Regions from separate parts of the Homo sapiens genome. Here region 1 is linked to region 2. The links are contacts of gene promoters, found by promoter capture Hi-C in human tissues and cell types (Jung and others, 2019). All regions are on one chromosome and are shown on one strand. Each heading gives the region's core, a stretch centred on a gene start or on the middle of the fragment in contact. The rest is flanking DNA. Distances are from core to core; before and after follow the strand shown. Region 1 overlaps CDK10 (cyclin dependent kinase 10). Region 2 holds the start of DPEP1 (dipeptidase 1).

Region 1 (3,757 bases), core at 1,221-3,720, 76 kb before region 2:
GCTCCCAGCAGCCCAGGAAACCAGTGCCCTCACAAGGCTCTTGGCCCCGGGGCTGCACTCTCCCAGCAGCCCAGAAAACCAGTGCCCTCAGAAGGCTCTCCGCCCAGGGCTCCCCGCTCCCAGCAGCCCAGGAAACCAGTGCCCTCAGAAGGCTCTCAGCCCCGGGGCTGCCTGCTCCCAACAGCCCAGGAAACCAGTGCCCTCATAAGGCTCTCGGCCCTGGGGCTGCCCGCTCCCAGCAGATGCCCCCACCACAGGAATTCCACCTCACTGAAGCTCGCTGAAACACTGGGAGGTGGAGGCAGAGGCAGCAGCAGCTCTTCAAGTCCCCAAGTGCCCTGTTTCGTTATAAATGTGCACCACAAGGGCCCATGAAGCCCATTCCCCCACCCCAGGCCCCTCTGCCACGCACCTGAGCCTCCGAGAAGGGTGTTGGCATATTCTCCAGGAGGCTGGCCAGGTCCTGCTCACAGTAACCCATCACCAGGAAGATGCTGGAAGAAACAGAAGATGCATGCCACTCTCCGGCCTTCTCCTAAGGGGTGGAAGTGGAGCCTCCCCTGCTGCAGGAGGGGACATGGGCAGGACAACCTGTGTCCCCCTCAGACAATGGGCTGAGCCAGGCGGTGAGGTGGGGTCATCTCTTCTCTGACAACCTCATGCCCAGTGACACTCAGTCCTCGCTCTGTGCAACACCTCTAGCCCAAGACACATGCTCCCTAGGGCCCAATGTGCAGACCAGGAGACCACGTACCTCTCCAGGTGGTTCCCCACAACCACCTCCTTCAGCTCCACGATGTTCGGATGACGCAGGCGGAGCAGCAGCGTGATCTCCCGCAAGCTGCTGATGGGGATGCCTGGGGAGGGAGGTGGCCTCAGCGAGCCCCACCCCAGTGATGGCGGGGAAGCCCCAACCCCAGCCACTCTTGGGCTTCACGAACACCTGATAGCAGGTGCTGCAGTGTCCCCACCTCAGGGAGAATTGGGGCGACCCCAATAAGCATTTTTTTTTTTTTGAGACGGAGTTTCGCTCGTTGCCCAGGCTGGAGTGCAATGGCACCATCTCGGCTCACCGCAACCTCTGCCTCCCGGGTTCAAGCAATTCTCCTGCCTCAGCCTCCCTAGTAGCTGGGATTACAGGCATGTGCCACCACGCCTGGCTAATTTTGTATTTTTAGTAGAGATGGGGTTTCTCCATGTTGGTCAGGCTGGTCTTGAACTGCCGACCTCAGGTGATCCGCCTGCCTCGGCCTCCCAAAGTGCTGGGATTACAGGCATGAGCCACCATGCCCGGCCCAATAAGCACTTTTAACTCTTCCTTGACCAAATACGAATCGGCACCTCTCTAAACACCGTGGACATCTATGTGGGGCATGGCAGGGCCCTGCCTGCACAGGCAGGTGCTGGGGGTGGAGGGGACAGCAGAGCTGAGCCTGCAGTGAGGTGGCCTCACCAGACAGGAGGGGGAGGAGGGGATGGAGACTGCAGAGCCCTCCTGGCAGACAGCTGAGGCTGCGTGTGGACCTGGGGGTGATGTGCTGGGCCACACCAGAACCCTCCCAGAGGCCGGCCCCCGCTACAAGCACCGTGCAGTCGCTCTGAGGAAACTTCAGGTAACTCACATCCTTCTGCCTCCTCCCAGTGCGAGGTCCCAACACCCCAATTTCCTGCTCACCATCCTTCTCCTTGTCCATCCGCACCTTCTTCAGTGCGACAATCTCATCTGTCTGGGTGTCCCGGGCCCGATCTGGAATGGAAACACATTGGTGATGACATCATCTCGATGCCCCTCGTGGGCTCCCTAGCGCTGAACGGGAGGCTCTCCCTGAGCCACAGGGGTCCCCGTTCTTTCCTCTGACAACCTCATGCCCAGTGACACTCAGTCCCCACTCTGTGCAACGCCCCTAGCCCGAGACGCGTTCCCCCGGAGGGTTTCCTCATTTGAACTGGGCAGGGGGTGCCCAACTTTGCTCTGTGCTGGACCCTGGCCTCCAGCCACTCAGTTCTGTGGCTCCAGGCTCTCCATGTCCTCCTTAGCATGCAGATCACTGCTTTGTGCTCTCTTGTAATGTCCTAAAAGCAAATAAGGTACTCTATGCAGAAAAAAGCAAACCTTATTTTGTGTGAAGATGGCTCTACAAAACATCCTGCTAATGTGTGCAGCTTCCAGAATGACCTACGCCAATTTCACATCTGTTATAACCTTTAGTTGTGTGTGGTGTTTTTGGTTTTTTTGAGACAGGGTCTCACTCTGTTGCCAAGGCTGGGGTGCAGTGGCGTGATCACAGCTCACTGCAGCCTCAAACTCCTAGGCTTGGCCGGGTGCAGTGGCTCACACCTGTAATCCCAGTGCTTTGGGAGGCCGAGGCAGGAGGATCATTTGAGCCCAGAAGTTCAAGACCAGCCTGGGCAACATAGGGAGATCCCATCTCTACCAAAAATTTAAAAATTAGCTGGGTGTGCTTATGTACTCTTGTGGTCCCAGATACTCAGGAGGCTGAGGTGGGAGGATCACTTGAGCCTAGGAGGTCGAGGCCGCAGTGAGCTATGATCATGCCACTGCACTCCAGTCTGGGCAATAGAGCAAGACCCATCTCAAAAACAAACAAAAAGAAAAAACACCTGGGCTCAGGTGACTCCTCCAGAGTTGCTGAGGTGATAGACATGAGCACCATGTCCAGCTCCTGCTGCTTCTGGAAAGTTCTGTATTTTATTTCTCTAACAGTTCTGTGTACTCTGCAGTGACACGTTTGGATTATGGGCATTAGCAACCGGATGCTTACGTTTACCCAGAAATGGTACAATGTTTGTGATAACTACATCAGGAATTGAAGTTCCTGAACAGGTTTCTGCCCTGTTTCAGAGCACAGGGTCTGAGTCCCTTCCAGCCCCAACGCGGCTGCTGCTTCGACAGTCTCGTCCCACACTGTCACAGCCACGAGCTGCGGCCACATGTCCTAGCCTTGGCCACTCACACACAATGCCGTAGGTACCCTCTCCAATGCGGTTCAGCTTCTCAAACTCCTTCACACTCCGGCATCGTCCCAGCTGAAACAGAAGGGTGTTGCCAGTGTGGAAATTTGGCAGCTGATGGAACAACTGAGGAAATTTCAAATGGAATTTGTACCAGGGAGCCCACTCACGTCTTGCTCACCAAACAGAAAGGCAACCACACGTTTGGGCTTTTTTTTTCTTTTTTTGAGACTGAGTCTCGCTCTGTTGCCCAGGCTGGAGTGCAGTGGCAAGAACATGGTTCACTGCAACCTCCGCCTCCTGGGTTCAAGTGATTCTCCGGCCTCAGCCTCCTGAGTAGCTGGGATTACAGGCAGGTGCCACCACAACCGCCTAATTTTCTATTTTTAGTAGAGACTGGGTTTCACCATGTTGGCCAGGCTGGTCTTGAGCTCCTGACCTCAAGTGATCTGCCCGCCTTGGCCTCCCAAAGTGCTGGGATTACAAGCGTGAGCCACCGTACCCGGCCTCTTGGGCTTTTCTGATGAGAAAAGGTGGTGACGATACTGGGCCAATGCTTTGAAAGAAATATCAGAGGCGGCCACTCAGATACTCCCTTTCAATCCCACATACAAAAATACATCTGTGGCAGAGGCTGCTGTCCCAGCATCCCTGTATCACTACCTCCTGGAAGTTATGAAACGCTACCCAGTGGCATCTGGCCTTGGAATGTGAGCTGAAGGGACCGTGTGACTTCCAGGTGAAAGGAAGCTTTCACCTCTTCTCACCTCAGTGACGGGAAGAA
Region 2 (6,803 bases), core at 3,590-6,089:
TTTGGGTGGCCAAGGCGGGAGGATCGCTTGAGGCCAGGAGTTTGAGACCAGCCTGGGAAACATAGGGAGACCCCCATCTCTACAAAAAATATAAAAATTAGCCAAGCGTGGTGGCACACACTTGTGGTCTTGGCTACATAGCAGACCGAGGCAGGAAGATGGCTTGAGTCCAGGAGGTTTAAGCTACAGTGAGCCGTGATCCTACCACTGCACTCCAGCCCGGGTGACAGAGCAAGACCTTGTCAAGATGGATAAACAAACTAATAAATTAATTAAAATAAAAATGTGAATTGTACAATTTTGTTGATTCTGTATGAGTTAAATCCTATTCTATTTGCATTTAAGCCAAGTATTACACAATATGAAGATAAATGGTAAATACATGCTAATAATTTAAAATTTTAATTTTTCTTGACTTAGAATGATGATTTTTTATTTTTATTTTTTTATATTTTTTGAGACTGAGTCTCGCTCTGTCGCCCAGGATGGAGTGCAGGGGCACAATCTCAGCTCACTGCAACCTCCGTCTCCCAGGTTCAAGTGATTCTTGTGCCTCAGCCTCCCGAGTAGCTGGGATTACAGGTGCATGCCACCACACACAGCTAATTTTTGTATTTTTAGTAGAGATGGGGTTTCACCATGTTGGCCAGGCTAGTCTCAAACTCCTGACCTCAAATGATCTGCCCGTCTTGGCCTCCCACAGCGCTGGGATTACAGGTGTGAGCCACTGCGCCCGGCCTCCCAAAGTGCTGGGATTACAGGTGTGAGCCACCGTGCCCAACCTCCCAAAGTGCTGGGATTACAGGTGTGAGCCGCCGCGCCCGGCCTCCCAAAGTGCTGGGATTACAGGTGTGAGCCGCCGCGCCCGGCCTCCCAAAGTGCTGGGATTACAGGTGTGAGCCGCCGCGCCCGGCCGCCTTCCAGCATTTCTGGCACAGACCGGCACAGGTGTGGGCTCCTGTCCTTTGCATGTTGTTGGCTTTCTGTTGACCAGATGGCCTGGAGACCTCCTGGCGTGGATGCTTCCACCTCATTCTCTGTAACATGTGCGCAAGCCTCAGAGCTCATGTTAGCTGAGCAATTCTTCCATGCAGGCACCGTGCTGAGGGAGCTCCTGTGGCCTCGTGAGGCAGGAGCGCTTTTCCCCTCACCTCTCAGGGCCCTGGGCCTTGGTGCCTGCCTACCTCTCCCACCTCCACCCAGCTCAGCCGTGAGTCTTCATGCAGTGTCCTCAGGGCATCACATGAGAGCCCCAAGCACCCCATCTCTCTGCCACTCCCTCTCCCTTGTTCTAGCTCCACCCTGTCTTGATTCCTGGCAATTCTAATAAGAGAGAATTGTCCCCAACCCTGGCCAAGCAATTCCCTGACATGTAATGACCTGTGCTACCCTCACCTTGCTCGGGTGGGGCCAGACCTTCACTGCAGTCCCATCACCCCACCCCTCCCTTCCCCTTCTGCTCCAGGGCCTGCCCAGGACCTCCAGCCTCCCGCCCCATTCTCTGCCAGACTCCATCATCCCCTCTGGAGCCGTCACGCCGCTCGGTAAAACCTGCCCGCTTCCTACCCGCTTCCTGGCCGCTCTCTGCCTGCTTCCCGGCCGCTTCCTGCCCACTTCCTGCCTGCTTCCTGGCCACTTCCTGTCCGCTTCCTGGCCACTTCCTGGCCGCTTTCTGCCTGCTTCCTGCCCACTTCCTGCCTGCTTCCTGGCCGCTTCCTGGTCGCTCTCTGCCTGCTTCCCAGCCACTTCCTGCCAGCGTGCGTTTGCACTGCCCTTCGCGGAGTGTGCTGAGGGGAGAAGGCCCAGCCGTCCCAATCTGCGCTACTTTGAATTCCTGATCACAAACTTCAAGGAACCTCTTTAAGCCACCCGGGAATCCTGCTGCAGGTCCCAGTGCCAGAACCAGAAGCATCTGTGCCATCTGGGAACATTCTGGTGGAGCAATCGCCCTGTCCTCGAGGTCGGCCATACACGCTGGGTCTTCACCACCCCGGGGATGCAGATGCCTCCTGGCGACCCCCTCCTCCATCCAAGGACCCCTCCCGGCACAGCCCCGAGCACACCCGCTGTCTCCCCTCCTTTCCGCCCGTCTGTCCGATCCTCTCACAGCTGGCTGGGCCATACTGCTCTGTGAAACTGTGCCCGGTCAGCCCCGGAGTGGGTGACCCAGGACCCGCTGGCTGTGTCCTTCCAGGGCACAGGTCCCAGCCTCTCCTGTTTCGTCGACACTGGCTACCTGTGTGGGCTTGTCTGTTTCTGGGCTCTGAGCCCTATCCCCACAGCACTGACTCCCCCACCCACCTGAACCCCCAGCCCAGCCCCCGAAGCCCCACGGACCCAGCCTCCTGCTGCGCACCCCAGCTGGAGTTCAGGGAGCATTTTAAATTCACTTTTTGTGTTTTTTTTTTGAGATGAAGTCTTGCTCTGTCACCCAGGCTGGAGTGCAGTGGTGTGATCTCAGCTCACTGAAACCTCTGCCTCCCAGGTTCAAGTAATTCTCCTGCCTGGGGACACGACACGTAGGGGACGCCTGAGCCCTGCGCCTTTGGGCCTCAGTATCTGTGAAATGGGCCTGTGAAAGGGGTGGACACTCAGAGGCCAGGGCGGGCCTTGGTGCTTGGTCTCCCTCCACACAGCCCACTCCTCTCCAATTCACACCCCACCAGCCGGCCAGGACCCCGGGGCCCCCGTGTTGACCGCCTGCCTGGCTGCTGCAGCTCCTGCCCTCTGGTGGCCAAATCCCAACGTGCCTCCGTGGGGCCGGTTCCCGGCTCCAGTTCACCGGGGCCTCGCGGGGTCCTGCAAGGCGGGGTCCTGGGGGCTCACTTCACCCAAGAACCAGCTGCTCCTCCCTCAGGGTGGGCTCTGCCTGTGGGCTCTGAAGACCTGGGAAGGCTGAGCAGGTGCTCGGAGCCACCACTGCTTCCATGGGTGTCCTGCCCTTTAACCCACGCCCTCACCCCTGAGAGCAAGGCTGCTGTTACCCCTGTCTCCTACTCTTGGAAACTGAGGTAGAGAAGACAGGTCCAGCCCCCTGGCTCATGGGAGATGGAGCCAGGATGTACGCACAGGACACAGGTCCAGAGACTCCAGAGCTGCGTGTAGACCAGCACCACTGCCCTGCCAGGCCCGCCTGCCCGCTCTGTACCCAGTGGGAGCTGGGAGCCTCAGCCCGACCTGTGAGGCCACCCCTCAGGGGCGGCTCTGAGAGGCCGCTTTGGGGCTCAGTGTCCGTCCACCGCAGCCTACGTCCCCCTGAAGCTGCAAGCAGGGACTGAGGGACCCTCCCCGTCTGCTCCTGGCCTCCGACTGGAGATTTGTCAAAGCTGACCTTTTGTCGACAAGGAGACTGAGGCCCAGCGGGAGGTATTTTAGAGACACTTCCACGTTTGGAGGCCCTAGATGCCCCCTTCCACCCATGACACCCACTGAGCTTCTCCATGGGGTCAGACGCCAATCAGCAAGAATTCGCCAAGAGATGTGGAGGCTACTAGACCCTCACCATGAAAATAGCTTGGCTGTGTAAGAGCCATTGGCCGAAGTAGGTTCTGCCCTTCGCTAGCCCAGCCGCAGCTCCAGACTCCAACTTCCGCCTGTGCCCAAGGCTTTCTCTCTAGCATGTCCTGTGATAACCCTGAAGCTCCCCGCACCCTACCCGGGGAGAAGATTTTTCTTTTATTTTTTTGGATACGGAGTCTCGCTCTGTCACTCAGGCTGGAGTGCAGTGGCACGATCTCAGCTCACCGCAACCTCCGCCTCCCGGGTTCACGCCATTCTCCTGCTTCAGCCTCCCGAGTAGCTGGGACTACAGGCGCCCGCCACCACGCCCGGCTAATTTTTTGTATTTTTTATTAGAGACGGGGTTTCACCGTGTTAGCCAGGATGGTCTCGATCTCCTGACCTCATGATCTGCCCACCTCGGCCTCCCACAGTGTGGGGATTACAGGCGTGAGCCACCGCGCCCGGCCACAGCTTTGATTTTCATTCAGCAAATCCTTTCCACCTGGAAGGAAATTGTGGGGCCGGACAACAGGCCCTGCTCTTAGCTGGGCGGGAAGGCAGATGACTGCGCAGAGAATTCCAGAACAGAGAGTAAGTCCGGGGACTCGGCGCTCCTCACACAGCCTCTGAGAACTCTTCCTGGAGGAAGGGGTACGTGAGCTGAGTCCCAAGGGTGCCTAGGACCGCACTGGGCGCCACAAGGAAGGAACAGCCGGCACAGTGGACAAGCGGGGTTGTGGGGCCTCTGGAGGGCCTGGCGGGTCCAGACCTCATCCTAGGGACCACGGGGAGGGCCAGTGGGAGGACAGCGGCGGGTCTGAGAGCAGCTCTCCCACCTCCTTGAGTCCCAGGAAGCCGCCGCGTCCCCTGCCCCACACACCTGGCCCCAGTTTCCTAGAATCCCAGGAAGCAGCCGCGTCCCCTGCCCCACACACCTGGCCCCAGTTTCCTAGAATCCCAGGAAGCAGCCGCGTCCCCTGCCCCACACACCTGGTGCCAGCCTCCTAGAATCCCAGGAAGCTGCCTCGTCCCCTGCCCCACACACCTGGTCCCAGCCTCCTAGAATCCCAGGAAGCCGCCCCGTCCCCTGCCGCACACACCTGGCCTCAGCCTCCTAGAATCCCAGGAAGCCGCCGCGTCCCCTGCCCCGCACGCCTGGTCCCAGCTTCCACCCACAGTGGTGCCCTGGGGTCCCCGGGCCTGCACCACCCCAGGTGGGCACCCCAGTACCCTGGCGCACCGACTCCCCAGCCCACTCACCCTGGCCTCTGCGATGCAGACTTGCTCCCTGGCAGGGCCCGGCCTAGGCAGCTCCCACGCCAGGCTCACAGCTGGGCTGGCCCTACCCGGCCACCTGCTGCCCCTCCCAGGCCCCTCCTCAGGAAGGTGAAACTGCCCCATTTCCTGCAGGAACCCTGTGTTCTCTGAAAGTAGAAAGAGGAGGGAAATGGAGGAGGGGAGGGGAAGGTTGGAGAGAAAGGGCCAGGGGTCGGAAGGAAGGGCTGCAGGAGGGAGAGAGGAGGAGGGAGAGAGGAGGAGGGAACTTTGCTCCAGGAGATGGCTCTGCGTCCTGACCTCCCCCAAGGCTAGAAACTTCTCCAGCAGCTTCCTCATTTCCTGAGAGTGCCCTGAGATGTCCTGGCAGTGTTTTTCCCTCATGTGTGGATGTGCCACCTCCCAGCCAGGGGGGTGCGTGCACAGCTGTGCTGTCCAGCTCTGTGATGTCAGATCTTAGAGAATGCTACACATCAGTACACATAAGCCATCTGTGTCCTTTTTCTCATGCATTTTCGTTGTGAAAATACAACATGTATACCAACAAGACATATAGGTGTTGGGAGGGAAACTGAGGCAGGGCTTGCATGATGTCCTTTGGAATGTGTCTAGACTTGCTGGCTCCTTCCTTCTAGCCCTCCTAGGCCCCTATTCCCATTATCTCAAGTAGCAGAACATGCTCCATATAAATGCTAAACCGGCACAGCTGTAATCATGTGCTTAATGCAACGTGGTCTTTTGACCTCCATATTCTCACCATCTGTTTCTTTGTTGCATTACCAATAAATACCGTGGGCTCCCAGAGCTCGGGCTTTTGCAGCCTCCACAATAGCGATGGCCCCCTGGTGTGCCACCTTTCTCTCTCTGTGTTTTTCTGAATCCTTTGACTCCGCCGGACTTTGTCACCCCCACGACCTGGGGTTGGGTCTGATCACCCCAACATATAGGTACTGTACCTTTACACAGAAACTACACAGGTGTTCGTAGCAGGACAATTTAGTATAGCCAAAATGTGGGAAGAGTGCAGATGCCCAACACGGGGACAGATAAATGTGTCTCTTCACGCAGTGGAGTATTACTCAGCCATGAAGAAGAGTGACGTGCTGACACGTGCTATAACATGAAGAACCTCAGAAACATTTCGCTAAGTGGCAGAAGCCAGATAGTCGGGTGTGGTGGTGCGCACCTGTGGTCTCTGCTGTGAGGCTGAGGCAGGAGGAGCGCCTGAGCCTGGGAGACTGAGGTTACAGTGAGCTGCGATCACGCCATTGCACTTCAGCCTGGGCCGCAGAGTGGGAGCCTGTCTCAGAAAAGAAAGAAAGAAGCTAGACTCAAAAGACCACATGTCGTGTGATTCCACTTATATGAAATGTCCAGAATAAGTGACTCCATAGACACAGAAGGTGGATTCATGGTTGTTGAGGCTGTGAAGGAAAGTGGGGAGTGGGTGCTAATGGGAATGGGTTTCTATTTGGGGCAATGACTTTTTTTTTTTTTTTTTTGAGACAGAGTCTTGCTCTGTCGCCCAGGCTGGAGTGCAGTGGCGCGATCTCAGCTCGCTGCAACCTCCACCTCCTGGCTTCACGCCATTCTCCTGCCTCAGCCTCCCGAGTAGCTGGGACTACAGGCGCCCGCCACCACGCCCGGCTAATTTTTTGTATTTCTTTTTTAGTAGAGACGGGGTTTCACCGTGTTAGCCAGGATGGTCTCGATCTCCTGACCTCGTGATCCGCCCGCCTCGGCCTCCCAGTGTGATACCCAACCTTGTTTTAACCTAAGTGACCTTCTCGTAGCAGAGAGAGCGCCGGACAGACTCCATTTTAGTTTCTTCACCTGCAGCCCCCTTCACCTCCCTCCCTTAAGGCTTAACTAGTGTGACTGACTCAAAGCACGTCTGGGAATGCACCTACTGATAAGATACTGAGGCAAGCTGCACCAGCAGCTCCTCGGGACGCGCTCGGTGGATGGCACCCGAAGCCCCTGCATTTATCTCTTTGTGATAGTTTAAGCCCCTGCACCTGGAGCTG

Evidence for each region. Contacts are between HindIII fragments. The study calls those that stand out against the background at their distance.
Region 1: a fragment that was not itself captured here is called in contact with the fragment with the promoter of DPEP1 in region 2 in 6 of the 25 tissues and cell types used here (heart right ventricle, lymphoblastoid cells, mesenchymal stem cells and 3 more).

The regions. Positions count from the first base shown.
Region 1 is chr16:89,688,543-89,692,299 of GRCh38, reverse strand. CDK10 (cyclin dependent kinase 10) reads right to left here. Exons shown (of 13, transcript NM_052988.5): 2 at 2,976-3,048; 3 at 1,676-1,747; 4 at 755-857; 5 at 413-494. Among named protein-coding and RNA genes, the nearest start is that of LINC02166, 3.5 kb to the right of the region's middle. The HindIII fragment of the contact is 5,257 bases long and covers 1-3,757 here.
Region 2 is chr16:89,611,678-89,618,480 of GRCh38, reverse strand. It overlaps DPEP1 (dipeptidase 1), which reads right to left and starts at 4,839. Exons shown (of 11, transcript NM_001389466.1): 1 at 4,762-4,839. RefSeq lists enhancers at 2,268-2,970, 2,971-3,675 and a silencer at 5,081-5,239. The HindIII fragment of the contact is 39,869 bases long and covers 1-6,803 here.